7 separate regions of the Homo sapiens genome follow, and all the other regions are linked to region 1. Evidence: promoter capture Hi-C in 16 types of primary human blood cells and fetal thymus (Javierre and others, 2016). All regions are on one chromosome and are shown on one strand. Each heading gives the region's core, a stretch centred on a gene start or on the middle of the fragment in contact. The rest is flanking DNA. Distances are from core to core; before and after follow the strand shown.

Region 1 (2,715 bases), core at 55-2,554:
TTCTCTGTTAATGGGCCTAATTAAGGGACCTGGATTTCGATTATTTAATTTTTCAAAATTCCACTATAGGAAAAATAATAGAACCAAGATTGTTCAAATTGTTCTTGCAATGGTTCCTGAAATATTTCCATCTCAAGTCATTCACTAATACAGTATATCTAAATGTCTTGTTTTTGGAGTAAGGGATCGAAACTTGCTCTTTTAGGTACTACACCAAATTACTAACCTGCCTTTTCGAGTAGCCCAATAATTATTCTAACACGTAATTTTGAACTTTAGGAATTTCTCTTTTGGAACAGAAATCTTTTTCATCGCAGTGAAAGCAGGCAAGAGGATGCGGGAAATTATCAGGGGGAAACATAAGTTCTGGGTCTTATCGGATGTCACAGTTTTTGACCCGAGCATCAGGAAAGCGAAGCCACACAACGCGGCTCCTCCTAGCCCCGGCGCGGCAGCCTGGAGGGGATGTCTTTTTTGCAAAGCGAGTTCTCCAACTTTCCCGGGCCTTGGCGGAGCTCCGGGACCGCGCAGGGGTAAGTGGAGTGCCGGGGAAGGGGCGCTGGGGCTGGGGTGCCGGGGCAGGGGTGCCCTGTCCGCACGTACCCACGACAGTGAGCAGCATGTTGTCCAGCAGCAGCGCCAGGAACACGATGAACAGGATGAGCTTCCGCGAGCGGCGGCTCTCCTGCAGCCAGCGGACCAGCGCCAGCTCGCTCAGGGCCATGGCTCCGGGGCTCCGCTGCGGGCGCGGTGCGCGGTGAGGACCCAAGGCGGCCGTGGACCCCCCATTCTCCCGTCCCCCAGGCCGCGGAAGGGCGGGTCAGGGAGCCGCGCGCACCGGCATCCGGGGACACCCCCGGGCGCCCCAGCCTCGGCTCACCTGCCTCGAGCGCGTCCCCACGAGAGCCCGCGCTCCCTGGAAAGAGCGCCCGCGAGCGCCGTCGGGGACCCAATCTGGAGACCCAACCTAGAACCCCCAGGACGCTGCCCTGATCCCCGCCGCCCCCAACTGTGCCACCTCCCAAACTGCACGCTCGGCCCCGTGCACCTTGCGCCCTGCGCCCTGCGCCCCGGCTGCCCCGGGGTCCCCGCAGCCCCGCCCGCGTAGCTCTGGGGGCCTCCCTGCCTCCCTGCCTCCCCCGGGCCCGCTCCCCTCCGGCACCGCGCCCTGCGAGCAGGGAACCGGGGCCGTGTTACCTCGGGGTCGCTTGCGATGCCTGCCCGGGTCCTCCGTGCCCGCGCCAACGCCCGCACCGCAGTGGGCTCCGTCAGTCCGGGCGGCTCCGGGTCGCAGTCTCCGCCCCAGCGCCCCGCCGCCGCCGCTCAGTTTACCCCGTCCGGCTCTGACGTCACGGCCGGAGGGAGCGGGGGCGGGGGGCTGGGGCGCCCCGGCCTCCGCCCGCCCGCGCCGTCGCTGCGCAGGAGGGGCTGCCGCCTCCCTGTCCCCGCCTCGGCCGCGGCCGCGCCTCTTCCCCGGACCCAGCGCGTGGCCGAGTGCCTTGGGGACCCAGGCCTGGGGAAGAGGCAGGGGCGCAGAGGGAAAGAGGTCAGAGAGCCTGGACGAAGAGTGAAGGGCCAGGGACCAAGGCGAGGAGGCACGGACCAGGGCTTTCTTGTGGCTCCAAGTGGTGGCTCGAGCTGCTTTGAATAAATCACGTGGCTCTTTGAGCCTCAGTGTCCCTGAAATGGGCCGTGAGGACGGGAATGATGGCCGCGGGGTGAGATCGCCAGGGGTGACAGGTGCTGGGAGCCAGGGACAGGCTTCCCTTTCCTGAAGAAGCCACCCTTTGCACCCACCATCCCCTCCCCTCTCCGACCTCTGCAGCCCGATGCGGGGTGCCACTCGGAGGAGCCTTTGAGCCTTGGGCATCCTCAAGCTGGTGACTTGGAAACGGGGGGGGGAAGGGGACACTTTTCAGTGTCGCCCTATGGTGGGAGTTGGGGAGGTGAGGGTCCCAGGTCTCAGAAAGTGGGAGCAGTGGGTTTGGGCCTCTGGGGCCACCTGAGCAGGGGACCCTGGAGGCTAGGTGAGTACACCTGGCCTCAGAGAAAGGGCTAGGGGGCGGGCTGTGGGCGGGGCAGCAGGCCTAGGCCCTGTGTCCTGTACTCTCTCCCCACCATGCTGTGCCTGGGCGTCTGGGTGAGAGGTGGTTCCTAGAGCCAGGGGCCTGCGTGTGGCTGGTGCAGAGCTGTCATCCTCACTGCTAAGGGCTAAGAGCCTGCCTTTGATTTCCAGGTCCCTTTTATAAGCAAAGGAGAAACAAACAGATGCCCTCTGACATCGCTGGAGCTCTGCAGGCCCTCCGAGGGGACCGTGGGAGCAAGAGCTGTTTTCTTGAAAAGCTACCTAGAATAAATGTTACCCTGTCACAGTCTCTTAGCAGAAGAGTGGGCTTGTTTTATTAATGTTAGCTTGTTGACAGCAGGAGGCCACTGAGAACAGCAGTGTGATGTGTGGCTGCCCCCGCTCTCTCCACCTCCCTACTCCCTTGCAGAGACCCCCTGTGCTTCTCATTGCTACCCCATGTGTGAGAAGAGATGGTTGAATAGGTAAGTAGGTCAGGAACATGGGTCTCCAGGATGTCACAGGATGTGCACAACTTAAACATTAAACAGGGAGGACAGAAGGAAAACCACTTAGGAGGAGGAAGCAGATGGCAGAGAGCCGTTTAAGATGGCAGGAGGGTATCACTCAGGGAGTGCCCCAGAGTGCTT
Region 2 (2,715 bases), core at 109-2,608, 230 kb before region 1:
CTCCCACAAAGGAGCCAACTCTACTGGGGCTGAGACCCAGAGCCATCTGGACTCCCAGGCCAGCCCCAGAGCATTGAGCAGCGGGTTAGGATACTTAAGGAGAGGCAAGTCAGGCAAGAAGCAGAAAGACAGGAAATGGAGAGATAGGAAGCAGAGAGACAGGAAGTGGAGGGACAGGAAGTGGAGAATCCAGCAGGGGCCAATGTTGGACAACACTCCTTTGCCAGCTGTGCTCCCCATGCAACGGGATGAGGAGATTTTAAGCCTCTACCAGAAAAACTCAAATCTGGAGATAATTTAATTTTTCCTGGGTCTCTGCCAGCCATCTCCAGAGTTTTGTCAAATTTTCCACCTACTTCCTCTGTGTGTGGAAACTCAGCCTCCATTTTAGAACTCCATTCCCAACAGTGGTTCTGCACCCCCACCCATGTTTTTTTGTTTGTTTGTTTGTTTGTTTGTTTTTGGTTATCCTGGAGGTTTTGTGGATTAAGATGTGTGAGATGAGGGGTTTATAGGGACTGGCTGGAGGTATGCCCCCCCTTCCACCCACACACCCACACACACATACACACGCACACGCTGTTGTGCAGAAGATGTTTCTTGGGTGGCTGAGCAAAGAATCAGGTATTTGGATGTCCTGATTTGACCCTGAGAAAAATAGCAGCCATCCACAGAGCTCTGAAACATACTTCCCACTGCTTGGAATGGCAGCTCCTCCTCAGAGTAAGTTGGAAATTTTTCTACTTTATTGCATAAATATAGAACCAAATCACACACTATATAAAGTTTTATATAGGAATATATAGATTTTAAAGTTCACGGTCTTCTCCTCTTTCCTTCTAATCCCACCACTCTCAGGATTACTATTTTGATGTGTATCATTGATTTTTTTATTCATGCTTTTTTAATGTAATGCTTATGAATACACATTCCCCTATTGGCTTTTCTCCCCCAGACAAAACTGGGACAAGCAATTAGCTTTTGAAAAATTTAACAATATATCCTGGCCATTGTTCCAGCTCAGGAGATATGGCTCTGACTCTTTTTTAACAGCTGCATAGCATCCTATTGTGTGGAGGTGCCATGATTTTATTAACCAGTCTTCTGTTGATGGACATTCAAATTGTTTCAGGTTTAGGGATTTTTGTTGGTTTGTTGGTGTGTTTCCTACTATTATAAATGACCCTGTAATAATTACTGTGCATCTCTCCTGCTGTACTGGCAGTTTTATTTTGTAGGACAAAGTTCTAAAAGTGGTCTAAAAGATTTACGCGACAGAGGAAACCTATGTTCAAATTGCAGTAGACACTGCCAGATAGCATCTCAGAAAGATCTTGCAATTCACACCCCTTCAGAATAAGTCTTCAACTCCAAAACCAGAGGGTGGTAATTTCTCAGGGAAGGCCTTTTTTTGGATTTCACTTTATATTTAGATAAAACATACAAAATTAGTTTATAAACTCTAAAGCATTTACAACTGAGATGTCAGCCGGTGATGATTTACTCCTAAATTCTAAGTAATAGCACTTCCAATCTCCATTCTACAGAATTTCCCTAAGCCATTGCCTCACCCAGGGTTTTGGAAGCTCCTGATGCAGGGTGAGAAGTGGGGGAGTTGATAGTTTTAAAGTCACTTCAAGCTCCTTACTGTAGCTCCAAACAGAAGAGAAAGAGATTGTATTTCTCTCCCTCTAATTATTGGAAAAAAGTCCTAAATTTTGCTCTAATTGGACCAACCTAGGTCGCAGGATTTGAGCCAATGTGAGTATGGCCTACCATGAATAAAGGGGAGAGGTTGAGGGGCATGAGTTCCTGGAGGTGGGCAGGGGCCTGAAATCATTCCATTTGGGTTCATTTCGTAATCCCACACATGCTGTTGTGGCCTGTGCCACACTAACCTAGACTTGGGACTGTGCCCTTTTCTATAATACATACATGTACACACCCTCCTCACATACAGTTATTCATAGTGTACAGACTACTGAAACTTTAGTGTACCTGGAAGGACTCACATCTTAGGACACATACAACTTAAAATTCAAAGTTCAATAAACCAGTTTCTAAAAATGCCCCGTCTTAGTCCTTTTAGTGTTGCTATCACAGAATAGCTGAAGATGGGTAATTTATTAAGAAAAGAGGTTTATTTGGCTCACAATTCTGATGGCTGGAAAGTCCAAGATTGGGCTGCTGCATCTGGTGAGGGCCTTAGGTAGCTTCCACTCATGGTGGAAAGAAGGGAAGGAAAAGTGCAAAGAGATCACAAGACAAGAAAAAGAATGAAACTGGGGAAGCCAGATTCTTTAACTACTTGCTCTTGCAGGAACTAATCCATTCCTGGAAGATTGAGAACGCACTCACTCCCTCAGGATGGCATTAGTCTGTTCATTAGGGATCCATCCCCATCCTCCATCTCCTATGGCCCCTCCCCAAACATTTCTGAAATGGAAGCCCTAGACTTCTGATCTTAACTAGATCCATTTTTTTTTTTTTCTTAGACAGAATCTCACTCTGTTGCCCAGGCTGGAGTGCAGTGATGCAATATCGGCTCACTGCAATCTCCACCTCCCAGGTTCAAGCAATTATTCTGCCTCAGCCTCCTCAGTAGCTGGGATTAAGATGCCCACCCCCATGCCCAGCTAACTTTTTTGTACTTTTAGTAGAGACAGGGTTTCACCATGTTGGCCAGGCTGGTCTTGAACTCCTGACCTCAGGTGA
Region 3 (2,715 bases), core at 158-2,657, 210 kb before region 1:
GGAAGAAATTTCCTAACTGTACTGACTCCATCAGAACCCCTGCCTCCCTGAGCAGGGAGAGGTGAGGAGTGGCAGATGTTGTTGGCTGCCTACCCCACAGCCATCCCCTTCCCCAGTCCATGCCTCTACACTCTTTCTTGCTGAATAGAACTCCCATTCTGTTCAGGAAACAAGGACTGTGTGTTCCATAGCAACCTGGGCCCCAGTCCTAGCCCTGGCCCCAGGAAGGAATCTTGATCAGTGAGGCAAGAGGTATGCCTGCCTCCCCGAAATGTCCTGATCCCAGAGGTGAGCAGAGTCACAGGTTCAAGGAGTTCCTAGTACTTCCCCTAGTACTACAGCTGAAGCCCTTTCCCCAGCCAGTGCAGCCTCTGGCATCTGAGGCAGATCCCAGCAGAGGATACCGGTGGCTGGAGATGTCTGCCTGGTCCCTCTAGGGTTCCAGCCTTTACTTTGGTCTCATGCTTGCTCTACTGCTCACTGTGGCTGGCTCTGAGAGGTAGGATTAGAGCCCAGGAGGCAAGTATGTCCACGTTTTACTTTAATCACATCTGGCTGACCTGGTTGCAATGAAATCCCTTAAAATGAAGGTGGGGATTGGTGGAGAACAGGAGGGGGTGGGAGGGTGTGGTCAAAAGAGACTTCCAGGACTTGCCTACAGCAAAAACATCCTGGGTTGAGGCAGGTGGAGGAAAGAGTGGTGCCCAGACCTTGGGTTCTTTCCCTGTCCCTTCTTGCTTCCAAACCCTGGCTTTGGTACCCACAGGCTGAACCCACTGATATGGTTTTGCTGTGTCCCCACCCAAATCTCATCCTGAATTCCCACGTGTTGTGGAAAGGACCTGGTGGGAGGTAATTGAATCATGGGGGCAGGTCTTTCCTGTGCTGTTCTCGTGATAGTGAATAAGTCTCATGAGATCTGATGGTTATTATAAGGGGGAGTTTCCCTGCACAAGCTCTCTCTCTGCCTGCTGCCATCCATGTAAGACATGACTTGCTCCTTGTTGCCTTCTGCCATGATTGTAAGGCTTCCCCAGCCACGTGGAACTGTAAGTCCAATTAAACCTCTTTCTTTTGTAAATTGGGCCAGTCGTGGGTATGTCTTTATCAACAGCATGAAAACGGATGAATACACCCACCCTTGCCCTTTCAAGTCTTGTTTCTTCTGTCCATGAGGCTTATTCAGAGGCTATATTCAGACCCTAACTCCAAAGCCAGTCTGGGAGCAGAGCCTGGGTGAAGCCAAAGTTGCCTCTATTTGATTCTTTTCTGTGCTACTCATGGTCTTGCTCTAACACTGCTTCTACCATTGCCTTTTTAAAAGATCTAATAAGTGATTCTTAGATATGCCAAAGAGGTGTAAAATATAACATAATTCATACCTGCATGCCCACCATTCAGCTTAAGAAACAAAGCATTTACCAATGGAGTTGAAGCTGATCCATTCTCTCTTCCCCCTTCTCAAAATCAGCTGACTCTTGTGCCTATCATATGGATTAAGTTTGACTACAAATAACAGAAAACCCAAAATAGTTACTCAAGTGAGCTAGAAGTTTACTGACCCTTGTAAGAGAGAGCTGGAGGGAAGCAGTTCAGGGCTTCTGTGGGAGCTCCACAGTCCCAGGACCAGCCGTCCCTGAGCTGCCACCTGCAGCACCATTTACACCTCCTGGACCAAGAGAGCTGCCACACTCCAGCCATCTCATCTACTTCAAGCCAGCAAAAAAGGAGAAATGAAGGAAAGAAGGGCATGTCACCTGCCTTAAGGGGACTTATTGAAAGTTGTACACTATGCTTCCCTTACATCCTATTGGCCAGAACTTGTCACAAGGCCACACCCAGTTGTGGGAGAAGCTAGAAGATGTTATTTTTATTCCAACGGGCTATGTGAAAAGGAGAGTGAAATTGGGAGACCCCTAGTGGTCTCTGCCACATCGTAGTCTTAACCAATATGCCGGCTTAGGACAGTAAATTGCTGAGGAATGGAGGAATGTTGCTTTTTAATTTTTTTAATTTTATTTATTTATTTATTTTTGAGACGGAGTTTCACTCTTGTCACCCAGGCTGCAGTGCAATGGCGCGATCTTGGCTCACTGCAACCTCCACCTCCTCGTTTCAAGCTATTCTCCAGCCTCAGCCTCCTGAGTAGCTGGGATTACAGGCATGCACCACCACGCCCGGCTAATTTTGTATTTTTAGTAGAAACAGGGTTTCACCATGTTGGCCAAGCTGGTCTCAAACTCCTGACCTCAGGTGATCCACCCGCTTCGGCCTCCCAAAGTGCTGGGATTATGGGCACGAGCCATCGCGCCCAGCCAGATGTTGCTTTTTTAAAAAAATTTTTAATATATGCCAAAAAAAAAGGATACAGATAATAGAGCTCAAAGAAATCTCATAAATGAATCATGATATAGACTGTAACCAACACCCCAGAAAGGCCACCTCCTGCCAAACAAGAGTCTGATTAGAAAATAAAATCCCAGGTTAGTAGCTGTCTCATTCCATGTTGGTTCATGAGAATTTAGTTTGCATCACTCCTTGTTCTTAGAGGACTAAGTTTCCAAATCCTTGTTCTTAGAGGACTATGTTTTCAGTTTCTGGTAATACTGGTAAGTGTTTCTCTTGATGAACGAGCTGAAACTGAAGGTGAATTTCCCTTTAGAAAAATCACGATCCACAGGGGGTTATATCCATGGATTTAGTTATAAGCTACAT
Region 4 (2,715 bases), core at 140-2,639, 200 kb before region 1:
CCAATCAAAGTCCACAAGGATACCTATTTGTTATTTCCTGCCTAAATTCCTATTGCTAAACCATCCTCCAAAAGCCCAAGCTTTTAGTTTCTTTAAACATGCATGCAACTGCTTCCTTTAAGAGAGAGAGAGGAGAGAGAGAGAGAGAGAGAATATAAAGCTGAAGCCCTAAGCAAGATGAAATGGCAGACACCATTACCCTCCAAAATTGGATTTATAATGGAAACAGAAACTGATTATGGTGGTGAGCTCTGCCATTATGAATTAGTTTAAAAAGAAATAACTGCAGCTGGGCACAGTGGCTCATGCCTGTAATCTCAGCATTTTGGGAGGCCAAGACGGGCGGATCACAAGGTCAGGAGATCAAGACCATCCTGGCTAACACGGTGAAACCCTGTTTCTACTAAAAATACAAAAAATTAGCCGGGCGTGTTGGTGGGCACCTGTAGTCCCAGCTACTCAGGAGGCTGAGGCAGGAGAATGGTGTGAACCTGGGAGGCAGAGCTTGCAGTGAGCTGAGATCGTGCCACTACACTCCAGCCTGGGGGACAGAGCAAGACTCCGTCTCAAAAAAAAAAGAAAAGAAAAGAAATAACTGCATGCAAAAATAGTCATATGACATCTCATAAAGGAGAGAATCTGTCTACCTTGACATATTTTCCTCTGAGAAAACTCCAGCTCAAGGTGAGGCAAGCCAAAACTTGCATGTCTGGATGAATGAAAGCCACATGGGCTGACCACCATCCGCCTCCACAGTCATCACCTACCCACAGATTCCCCTGACACTCATCCTACTTGCCATGCAGCTTGTTAGGAATTTGGAAGGTACGCTTTTTTTTTTTTTTTTTTTTTTTGAGACAGAGCCTTGCTCTGTCACCCAGGCTGGAGTGCAGTGGTGCGATCTCGGCTCGCTGCAACCTCCACCTCCCAGGTTCAAGCAATTCCCCTGCCTCAGCCTCCCAGGTAGCTGGGACTACAGGTGTGCACCACCATGGCTGGCTAATTTTTTGTATTTTAGTAGAGACAGGGTTTCACCATGTTGGCCAGGATGCTCTCAACTCCTGACCTCATGATCCGCCCACCTCAGCCTCCCAAAGTGCTGGGATTACAGGCGTGAGCCACCACGCCTGGCCGGAAGGTAGATTTTAACCACTCAATTAAAGTGTTCAAGGAAAAACAGAAGCAAAAAAAGCACATATAAAACCCCCTCTAGTTCTAAACTGGCTCTCTTCCATCTGATCGCTGGGGACGCAAGGCCAACAGCAGATCATACTTGTGACAGGGCGAGTGGCCCTGAAAAGTGCCTCTCTTCCTTTCTGAGCCCCAGGGTCCTGTCCCTGCCCTCAAGCAAGAAAACAATCAGTAGTAGTTGGAGAGGCCCACTCTATGGCTAAAGGCCCCAGGATTAAGAATGAGCAGACTTGGTTCCAGTCTCAGGGATGCCACCTATTATTGGCAGGTCACCTCACATCTCTGAGCCCATTTACTCATCTGTGTGATGGGAACAATAATAAAGATGGCATGGAGGGAGCTGGGTAGATCAAAGGTGGTGATGGATGAGAAACTGGGAACCCTGTCTTCACGGCTGTGCCAGAAGCCACTGGCAAAATATCAAACAGAACAAGCAAACAATCAGCTTTCCTAATGTCAGCTACCCAGCTTTCTCAAATGCAGAGAATCCCAGACTGTGTAGCTGCCCTTCCCTGCAAGGCAGGGATCAGGCCCTAGTGATTGGGACCATACTTCATGGAGCTGTGTTCCATACCATCTGCTTGTAAACAACTCAAATAAAAGAGTAATAGCTAACCTTACCAATACTGCACTACAAACCAGCAACTGCACTAAGTGTTTTAGAAACAATGCTATGAAGTAGGTAGAAGGCATTCTTGTTCTCATGTTACAGACAAGGAAACTGAGGCACAGAGTGGTTAAGTAGCTTACCCAAGGTTTCCCAGCCAGCCAGTGGCAGATTTGGGACTCACACCGACAGAAACCAGTTGTGGAGGCTTTCGTCGTTAGGTCACGCTGCCTCTCCAGAAAATGAGGATGGCTGGAAAAAAGTAGGGGCAAACAGTTCAGTCACAAAGAGTCTCTCTCCCTCCACTTCTTACATTTTGGGAGCAGGAGTTTCAACCTTACACTGGAAGGAGATAAATGAACTTGAGCTGCAGGTAAAAACGTGCAAATCTCACATTTGATGTCAAGCATTGTGTTGAGTGAAAAAGCAGAAGAATGATACACTATGATGTTATGTACATACCAAAAAAAATTTTTTGAGACAGAGTCTTGTTCTGTCACCCAGGCTGAAGTGCCATGGCACTCATAGCTTACAGCAGCCTCAACTTCCCAGGCTCAAGTGGTTCTCCCACCCCAGCCTCCCAAGTAGCTGGGACTACAGGCATGTACCACCACATGCAGCAAATTTTTTATTTTTGTAGAGACAGGGTCTCACTATATTGCCCAGGCTGGTCTCTAACCCCTGGGCTCAAGTGATCCTCCTGCCTCAGCCTCCCAAAGTGCTGGGATTACAGGCATGAGTCATCTTGCCCAGCCCACAGAGTTTTAAAACATATAAAAGATTATGTATTACCTAGAGATTCATACACAAACGGCAACAGCATCAAGACATTCCTGGGAATGATGAACATCTCCTTCATAATTCACCTCGGAAGCAGGGGAGGGATGAATAAAAGCTTTCTAATATATCTGTATTTT
Region 5 (2,715 bases), core at 152-2,651, 180 kb before region 1:
GGAAACATATCCTTTTAGGCTTGTTTCTACCTAACTGTCTCCTGGAAGAACAGGTTACCGTCAGTTTTACTTACATGTTTTTATACAAATAGGGATTTGTGTGTTATTAGGACTCATTTGCAACTATGATCTAAAATATGAAAGGAATATGTCTTTTCTGCATTTTGATGGCTTAACTTGTCTCTGCACCTTTCCGAAGTCTAGACTGTGGGAATGAGAAGCTCTCAGCAGCCTTCAAACACATCCACCAGGTCTCCATCTGTTTAGCCACTGCAGGGCTATTTCCTTTCTTTGGTCTTTTGAAAGGCAGCAGGCGGCATCTCTAAAAATAGTGGCATAAGTGAGTGTGCCTGTGGGCTGGGGGGCTCAAAGGGCCACTGTGAGTGCATTTATGGATTGCCATGTGTTATAGGGCCCCAGCTGAGAGGGACCACACAAAGCACAAGAAAGGGTCGTCAGAGATGTCAGCCACTCCTTGGTCCCCCAGGCAGCCAAAACCTCCGCCGGGGACCCGCACTGAGAACAGCAGCAGAGACTAAGCAGTGTCAAGTAAGGCTCTGCAGGGAGATTGCCTGCTTCTGCAGTCACTTCCTGGGTGACCCTGAGCACATTTTTCCACCTCCTTGAGCTCGTGTACTCACCTGTAAAATGGAAATAATTGGCCAGGTGCGATGTTTCATGCCTGTAATCCCAGCACTTTGGGAGGCCAACGTGGGAAGATCACCGGAGGTCAGGAGTTGGAGACCAGCCTGGCCAACATGGTGAAACCCTATCTCTACTAAAAATACAAAAATTAGCCAGGCATGCTGGCACATGCCTGTAATCCCAGCTACTCCGGAGGCTGAGACAGGAGAATGGCTTGAGCCCAGGAGGCAGAGGTTGCAGTGGGCCAAGATCATGCCACTGCACTCCAGCCTGGGTGACAGAGCAAGACTCTGTTTCAAAAAAAAAAAAAAAGGAAATAATCATAGGCAGTTGGTATGAAGACATTTTATATAACCACAATGGCATCATGATTACTTAAGAAAATGCCTATAACTTTTAGAAATACTTACTGAGTATGTAAAGATGAAATAACATGAGGCCTAGGATAGGCTTTAAAGTAATTCAGCAAAAATAAAGACAGGAGTTATTCCATTTACATTAAGGTCAGGAAGAGGCAGAACAAATCTATGGTGATTAAAAAAAATAAGATCATTGATTGCCTTTGGAAAAGGGTATCAAGGGAACTTTCTGGAGTACTGGAAATGTTCTACAACTTGATTTGAGTGCTGATAACATGGACATAAACATTTGTGAAAATTCATTAACCTGCAAATGGTTCAGAAAAATAATAATAGCATGTTGACAAAGATTCTTTGCTTAGCCAAACTTTATTCAGGCTTCTGATTCTCCTCCTAGGCCCATCTGTGTGCTTCCTATAAGGTCCAGTTTTAGCAAAGAACCTCACTAAGTCAGTTTAGCAAGAAACCCCTATCCTTGACATCTGACCAACCTCCAGCATTCCGCAGGTGATGTCTGATCAAGTTGGCCTATCTTTAGCAAGAATAGTGTTAGGTTCGTTTAGCTAGAATCTCCCTTACCCTTGCTGTTTCCTCTTAGTAATTTTCCATCCATTGACCCCACAGTGCTTCTGGGCTGTAAACTCCCACCTGCCCATGTTGTATTCAGAATTAAGTTCAATCTCTCTCTCTCACTGCAAGACCCTGTTACAGTGGCCCCTATACCTATGGTCCTGAATAAAGTGTTCCTTAGTGTGTTTTGACAAGTATCATTGAATAATTATTTCTTTCTTTCTTTCTTTCTTTCTTTTTTTTAAGACAAGGTCTCACTCTGTCATCCAGGCTAGAGTGAAGTGGCACAACCATAGCTTACTGCAGCCTCCATCACCCAGGCTCAAGTGATCCTCCCACTTCAGCCTCCACGCCTGGCTACTTTTTCTTTTTCAGTAGACACAAGGTCTCACTATGTTGCCTAGGCTGGTCTTGAACTCCCGTGCTCAAGTGATCCTCCCACCTTAGCCTCCCAAAGTATTGGGATAACAGGTGTGAGCCACTGCACCTGGCATAATTGTTTTTTTAACAGTGTGTGTATTCAGAAAAATATTAACAATGTGTATGTGGATAAAGTTTGATGAGTAATGATAAAAACAAGAATGATAAAATGTTAACACTTGGGGAATCTTAGTGAAGGGTATATGGAAATTCTTTGTATTATTTTACAACTTTCTGTAAGTATGAAATTATTTCAAAATAATAAAAGTTTAAAAATTCATCAAACCATACACTTTAAATTGGTTGATGAATTTTACTGTGTACAAATTATACATCAAAGTAAAAGTTAAAAACGAGACTAGAAAGCAAATGTAGCAAAATCTTGATAAATGCTGAGTCCCTGAGTGATAGATGTATGGAGGTTCATTTTACCATCTTGTCTGCTCTTGTGTATGCTTGGCTATTTTATTTTCTTTCTTTCTTTTTTTTTTTTTTTTGAGATGGAGTTTCACTCTTGTTGCCCAGGCTAGAGTGCAATCGCACGATCTCGGCTCACTGCAACCTCCGCCTCCCGGATTCAAGCGATTCTCCTGCCTCAGCCTCCTGAGTAGCTAAGATTACAGGCATGTGCCGTCATGCCTGGCTAATTTTGTATTTTTAGTAGAAAAGGAGTTTCTTTATGTTGGTCAAGCTAGTCTCGAACTCCTGACCTCAGGTAATC
Region 6 (2,715 bases), core at 56-2,555, 150 kb before region 1:
ATCTGAAGATCAGGTGATTAGCAACCTTAATTCCTCCCACAACAGTAACGCCCCTTTGCCACGTAACGTAATATATCCACAGGTTTTGGGGATTAGGATGTGGACAACTTTGGGGGCCATTATTCTGGGCCCCCCCACAAGAAACCACTGGTACGTTTCAAACAGTTGAGTGGCATGATCCGACTTGTGGTTTACCATGGTCACTGTGGTGTCTGTGTTGAAACAGACATTAGGGTAGCAAAGGCCAGAGAGACCTTTAAGTAGAGAGGCCAACTAAGAGACCACTCCAATAATCAGGCCAAATATGGTGCTTGAACCATGATAGTGAATGCGGTGAGAAGTGGTGAAACTCTGAATATATTTTGAGGGTAAAACCAATAGGATGTGTTGCAAGTGTGAATGCAGATAAGAGAGAAAGGAGTCAAGGATAGCACAAGGCTTTTGGCCTGAGCAACTGGAATGACAGAGGTACCATTGATAAATATGGCGGGAAATGCCCAAGGAACTCTCATGGGATGGATATTCGCTCAGTCTTACACACAGTAAGTCATCTCACACCAAGGTGGAGATGGCTGGTAGGCTGTTGGATATATGGGTTTCCTAGAGGAGCTCAGAGTGAGTAAATGCATTTGGAAGCATACACATATGAATAGCATTTAAAGGTAGGAGGCTGGATGAGATCACCTAAGGACTGAATGAAAGTAGAGATGAGGTGAATATGCTCTTGGGCCCCAAAAGTTACACTGATCTCCACACAGTAGATTTAGATCCACTGGCAGTCTCAAGGACTTGCCATCTCCAAGCATGTTGCTGCTGCAGCAATGTTATTCTCTTCCAGAGTTACTTACCTTCCCTGGCTTTGCCAGAGGAGCAGAGCCAGCAGTGATCCCTCCTCTCCCAGCATGATAGGACGTTCTGGTGTCAGTGTTGGCTCCCCTCTACAAAGCCTCTTCCTTCAAACAAGTGGTCTTAGGGCTTCAGGAGAAGGTGGCTCTTTCTCACCAAAGTGGAGAGTAGGTCATGTAAATTCATTCACTTAATAAATACCAGTTGAGTACTTACTATGGGCGAGGCCCTGTGCTGAGTGCTGGGAAACTGTGGTTTACAAGACACACATTGTACAAGTGATGATAGTAAAGTGTGGTGAATACTGTGTCAGGAGTGTATTTGGCTGCTAGTAACAGAGACCTGTAATAGTAGTTTGACAGCTTAAGGGGAATTTTTTTATGTAAAAAAAAAGTTCCAAGGTGGGTATTGCAAAGTTGAGTTCAGCTTCAGTGTCATCAGTGTTCTGAGCTTATTCTGTCTTTCTGCTCAACCATCTTCAGTGTGTGGCATCTATCCTCAAGGTTACCACATGATTATAAAGTGGCCACTGAAGTTCCAGCCATCACATCTGAATTCCAGGCCAGGGGAGGGAGAGGGAAGTACAAAAGAGATATGGAGATAATAAATCAAAATCCTTTGTTGAGCTCCCACCCAAAAATTTTGCTTATATCTCATTGGCCACTCTTATCTGCAAGGCTGGTTGGGAAATGTCATTTTTAAAATCTGAACAATTTGCTGTTCCCAAATTCTTCTTTGAAATGAGTGAATGGATATGGACGAAGCAAGTAGCAGTCTCTGCCATAAGCACCAGGATGAGGGAACATATATTGGATGTTATATGAGGATATAGCAAGGGATAAGCCTTGGTTAGGGCCAGGGGAGTCTCCTAAAGAGGAAGATTTCAGTCTACACTTTAAGGGTAGGGTTACCTGCAAAGAGAAGAGGCAGAGAGTTTCAGGTGGAAGAAGCAGCATGTGCAAAGGCCTGGAGATACCAGAAAGAAGTCAGCACAGGAGGAAGCACAAGAGCTCAGGCAGGCTGGAGCAAACTCTGTGACGGGGAAAGGGGAAAGTGAAGGGATGGATTGTGAAAGGCCTGAAGGATGTTACTGGGAACTAGTACTTCATCCTTAAGCCTAAGGGCAGCTGTAGAAAAACTTTAAGGAGGAATCAGCTTAATGTGTCCTGAGGGCAGAGTAGAGAATAAAGTAAGGCGAGGAAAGCCGAAGGTAGGTAGACCAATTAGGAGGCAATGGCAGGATTAAAGCAAGAGATAACAATGGCCCAGACTGGGGTATTTCAGGGGATGGAGAGAAGTGGACTGGCTTGCACAACAATTTACGAGGAATATAAATGCTGATTTAAGGCCTCGGCTATCTAAAAACGGTTTGATTATTGTTGTCCCAGGAAGGGGACCCATCAAAATGACCTTCTGCGAAGCCTCACAACTCCAGGGTTTAGTTCAGGTTCTGAATTGTAGTGAAGGAGAATGGAAATTAGCAAACAGCCTCAAATGAAAGATAAGCAGTTTTGAGACTGGTAAGTAACAGTATTAAAGTGTAAAGCAGATAGAATTTACAGCTATTGTTAGACTCTCCTGAAAGTGTTATTAGAGTCAGTTTTTCACTTCCATTGAGAAAGAGAAAATAACCAATATTTTGTGAAGCGAGCATGGAAAAAGTATGAGGACAAGATGAAAAAGAGACACCAGGAGTTAGGACCCCAGGATTATGATCCGGGCTGTGATACTGTCTTGCTGGGTAGCTTGAGAGAGGCCACAGCATCTCTCTGGGTTTCCTTGCCAAGATCATCCCCATTCTCTGGGTTAGTGTCCATGTGCAGGTGATAGGTCTGCTCCTCCTACATTGTCTTTGATAAGGGAACCCTC
Region 7 (2,715 bases), core at 91-2,590, 130 kb before region 1:
TCTCTAGTAAAAATGCAAAAATTAGCTGGGCGTGGTGGCGGGCGCCTGTAATCCCAGCTACTCTGGAGGCTGAGGCAGGAAAATGGCTTGTACCTGGGAGGCAGAGGTTGCAGCCAGCCGATATCGCACCACTGCACTCCAGCCTGGGCGACAGGGTGAGACTCCGTCTCCAAAATAAATAAGTAAATAAATAAATAAACAAACTGGTGATGATGTGGGACTGATTCAAGTTTCAGATAAGAATGAATTACAATACATCTAAGATATAGCATACTTCTCACAGGGAAAATTAAACTAGCTAGTGTTCATCTTTTTTTACAGATGAGGAAATGGAGCTCGGAGTAGTTAAATAACTTGCTTAAAGTCACACAGCTTTCAAGTGTTGAAACGCAGCTCTGATAAGGCCAGGCCACCTTTAAACACACACACACACACACACACACACACACACACAAACTATGTTGTTCTTAAGTGATTTATTTTTTAAAAGCATGCCATCGATATAGTAAATATGTGGGATATCTTTCCAAACTAACCTAGAACTCTTGAGAAGAGTATGACTATAAAGCTGATTTTTTTTTCTTAAATTGGTCATTTTAGAGGATCCTTTTAAAAGTAAATCATGAGGCTAAATCTTTGGGTACTGTCCCACGTGGCATTTCTTTTTTAATTGAGCAGAATTGTGTTTCCAAATAGAAGAGACAGGTTTCACCATGTTGGCCAGGCTGGTTTCGAACTCCTGACTTCAGGCAGTCTACCCACCTCGGCCTCCCAAAGTGCTGGGGTTACATGTGTGAGCCGCTGTGCCCGGCCTAGTTTATTCTTTTTTAGCTATCTAATCTTCTTAGTAGAGCTAAAGCAGTAAAGAGAATTGTATGGAGTCTTACGATCCTTTGGCATTTGTAATCATTACATAACAAATATCTTGCCAGTTAACGTTGTTATTACTTCTTTCCCCCTTCATTTATTTTGCCTTTTTCGTGTTGCTAAAGTGAATCAGCCTCTCTGGACTGCCAGTTCCTGATGTTTCACCTAGAGATGCTAAGTTGCTCAAGTGGTTGCTTTCTAAGGACCCAGCTGACTGACATTTCATTTTACCCAAGTTAACAAACTTACAATGTTTGTAAAACATTTTATTTTACAAAATGAATTATAATATGTAGACAATATGTTTACAGATTTATTCAAGTTAGGAATTTCATTCATCCACCTCAATGTTAATTGGTTTGATTTTTTAATTAAAATAGTATATTATAATAGCAATATATTTTTTTAAATGAACCTCAGAATCCATCCTCAAGGGAGAAAGATTACCACTAATGTTCTTTTACTACGTGGATAATTCATCTTAAACATGGAGTCTGAGTAATAGTGTCTGGGTGGGGAGCTCTGTTTAGGGTTTAGGAGTCAAATATTTGAGATTCTTACGGATGCTTGTGTTCCTGGAGTATTATTGTATATAGACAAGCAGATTCAGTTTGCAGGTACTTTTAATTTGGCCTGCACTGTTTAAAAAATGGAAAATTCTGTGTGTTTTGGATTTGTGGCTTCTGTTAGGAAAAATTGGAATATCTTGTAGCGCCAGTGCTGCATTTCTCAGAGCAACAACAGGATGGAGAGATGGACTGTAGTAGCAGCTTTGGGGTTGAAACTCGGTGTGTAAGCTCCTAGGTGGAGTTTATAGTCCCCCCTTATTTGCTGTGCTTAATTGATGGTACTTGCCTGGCTTGGAGTTATATGAATTTGAGACCCGTACTGGAGGAGTAAATAGGGAGCATTACTGTTGCTGATTAGTGAAAATGAGAAGACTTAATAGCTGGAGTGGAGAGGGAGAGTGATCATTTTTATCCTTCTTTTAATTACATTTTTGAAGGGACTGTCATAGAGCAATTTTATTTTTTAAAAGACATTGTTGGCCAGGTGCGGTGGCTCACTCCTGTAATCCCAGCACTTTGGGAGGGCAAGGCAGGCGGATCACTTGAGGTCAGGAGTTCGAGACCAGCCTGGTCAACATGGCGAAACCCCATCTTTACTAAAAATACAAAAATTAGCTGGGCATGGTGGCACATGCCTGTAATTCCAGTTACTCAGGAGGCTGAGGCAGGAGAATCGCTTGAACCCGAGAGGCAGAGATTGCTGCAAGCCGAGATCATACCACTGCACTCCAGCCTGGGCAACAGAGCAAGACTCTATCTCAAAAAGTAAAAATAAATAAATAAATAAATAAAAGACATTGTCAGGCCTGGCGTGGTGGCTGATGCCTGTAATCTCAGCACTTTGGGAGGCCAAGGTGGGTGGATCACTTGAGGTCAGGAGTTCGAGACCAGCCTGGCCAACATGGTGAAACCCCGCTTCTACTAAAAATGGCACGCACCTGCAGTCCCAGCTGCTGGGGATGCTGAGGCATGAGAATTGCTTGAACCCAGGAGGCGGAGGTTGCAGTGAGCCAAGATTGCGCCACTGTATTCCAGTCTGGGCAACAGAGTGAGACTGTCTCAAAAAAAAAAAAAAAAAAAAAAAACATTGTCAATATAATGTTGAATTTTAAAAAGTCACTCTGCCAGAAAAAAAAAAATGCCTTGAAATGCAATCCATTTTTCTACCATGTAGTGATGGTAAGTAGATAGTGTCTCCTTTTTGTTCGAGTTTGGTGGATAGTTTGCTTTAGTGGAATGGGTCATTAATAACTATGTAAGCATTTACTTCACTGATCTC

Evidence for each region. The method cuts DNA at HindIII sites, captures the fragments that hold promoters and counts their contacts. A CHiCAGO score of 5 or more calls a contact.
Region 2: a fragment that was not itself captured here is called in contact with the fragment with the promoter of SLC18A2 in region 1 in 1 of 17 cell types (neutrophils); the score reaches 6.5 in neutrophils.
Region 3: a fragment that was not itself captured here is called in contact with the fragment with the promoter of SLC18A2 in region 1 in 2 of 17 cell types (neutrophils and megakaryocytes); the score reaches 12.4 in neutrophils.
Region 4: a fragment that was not itself captured here is called in contact with the fragment with the promoter of SLC18A2 in region 1 in 2 of 17 cell types (neutrophils and megakaryocytes); the score reaches 10.0 in neutrophils.
Region 5: a contact is called between a fragment that was not itself captured here and the fragment with the promoter of SLC18A2 in region 1, in 1 of 17 cell types (neutrophils). The highest score is 18.2, in neutrophils.
Region 6: a fragment that was not itself captured here is called in contact with the fragment with the promoter of SLC18A2 in region 1 in 1 of 17 cell types (neutrophils); the score reaches 15.4 in neutrophils.
Region 7: a contact is called between a fragment that was not itself captured here and the fragment with the promoter of SLC18A2 in region 1, in 2 of 17 cell types (neutrophils and fetal thymus). The highest score is 17.2, in neutrophils.

What each region holds. Positions count from the first base shown.
Region 1 is chr10:117,239,703-117,242,417 of GRCh38, reverse strand. SLC18A2 (solute carrier family 18 member A2) reads right to left here and starts at 1,304. Exons shown (of 16, transcript NM_003054.6): 1 at 1,198-1,304; 2 at 604-739. The coding sequence starts at 724. SLC18A2-AS1 (SLC18A2 antisense RNA 1) reads left to right here and starts at 421. Exons shown (of 3, transcript NR_184310.1): 1 at 421-533; 2 at 635-757; 3 at 2,237-2,715. The HindIII fragment of the contact is 8,499 bases long and covers 1-2,715 here.
Region 2 is chr10:117,474,365-117,477,079 of GRCh38, reverse strand. No RefSeq gene overlaps it. Among named protein-coding and RNA genes, the nearest start is that of EMX2, 67 kb to the left of the region's middle. The HindIII fragment of the contact is 3,930 bases long and covers 1-2,715 here.
Region 3 is chr10:117,451,951-117,454,665 of GRCh38, reverse strand. All of the region lies in intron 1 of LOC105378502 (a long non-coding RNA gene), which reads right to left. Among named protein-coding and RNA genes, the nearest start is that of PDZD8, 78 kb to the right of the region's middle. The HindIII fragment of the contact is 6,683 bases long and covers 1-2,715 here.
Region 4 is chr10:117,435,551-117,438,265 of GRCh38, reverse strand. It overlaps LOC105378502 (a long non-coding RNA gene), which reads right to left and starts at 2,035. Exons shown (of 3, transcript XR_946344.1): 1 at 1,942-2,035. The HindIII fragment of the contact is 2,613 bases long and covers 83-2,695 here.
Region 5 is chr10:117,414,956-117,417,670 of GRCh38, reverse strand. No RefSeq gene overlaps it. Among named protein-coding and RNA genes, the nearest start is that of PDZD8, 41 kb to the right of the region's middle. The HindIII fragment of the contact is 6,430 bases long and covers 1-2,715 here.
Region 6 is chr10:117,388,173-117,390,887 of GRCh38, reverse strand. No RefSeq gene overlaps it. Among named protein-coding and RNA genes, the nearest start is that of PDZD8, 14 kb to the right of the region's middle. The HindIII fragment of the contact is 5,132 bases long and covers 1-2,715 here.
Region 7 is chr10:117,368,658-117,371,372 of GRCh38, reverse strand. All of the region lies in intron 1 of PDZD8 (PDZ domain containing 8), which reads left to right. Among named protein-coding and RNA genes, the nearest start is that of PDZD8, 5.4 kb to the left of the region's middle. The HindIII fragment of the contact is 3,952 bases long and covers 1-2,715 here.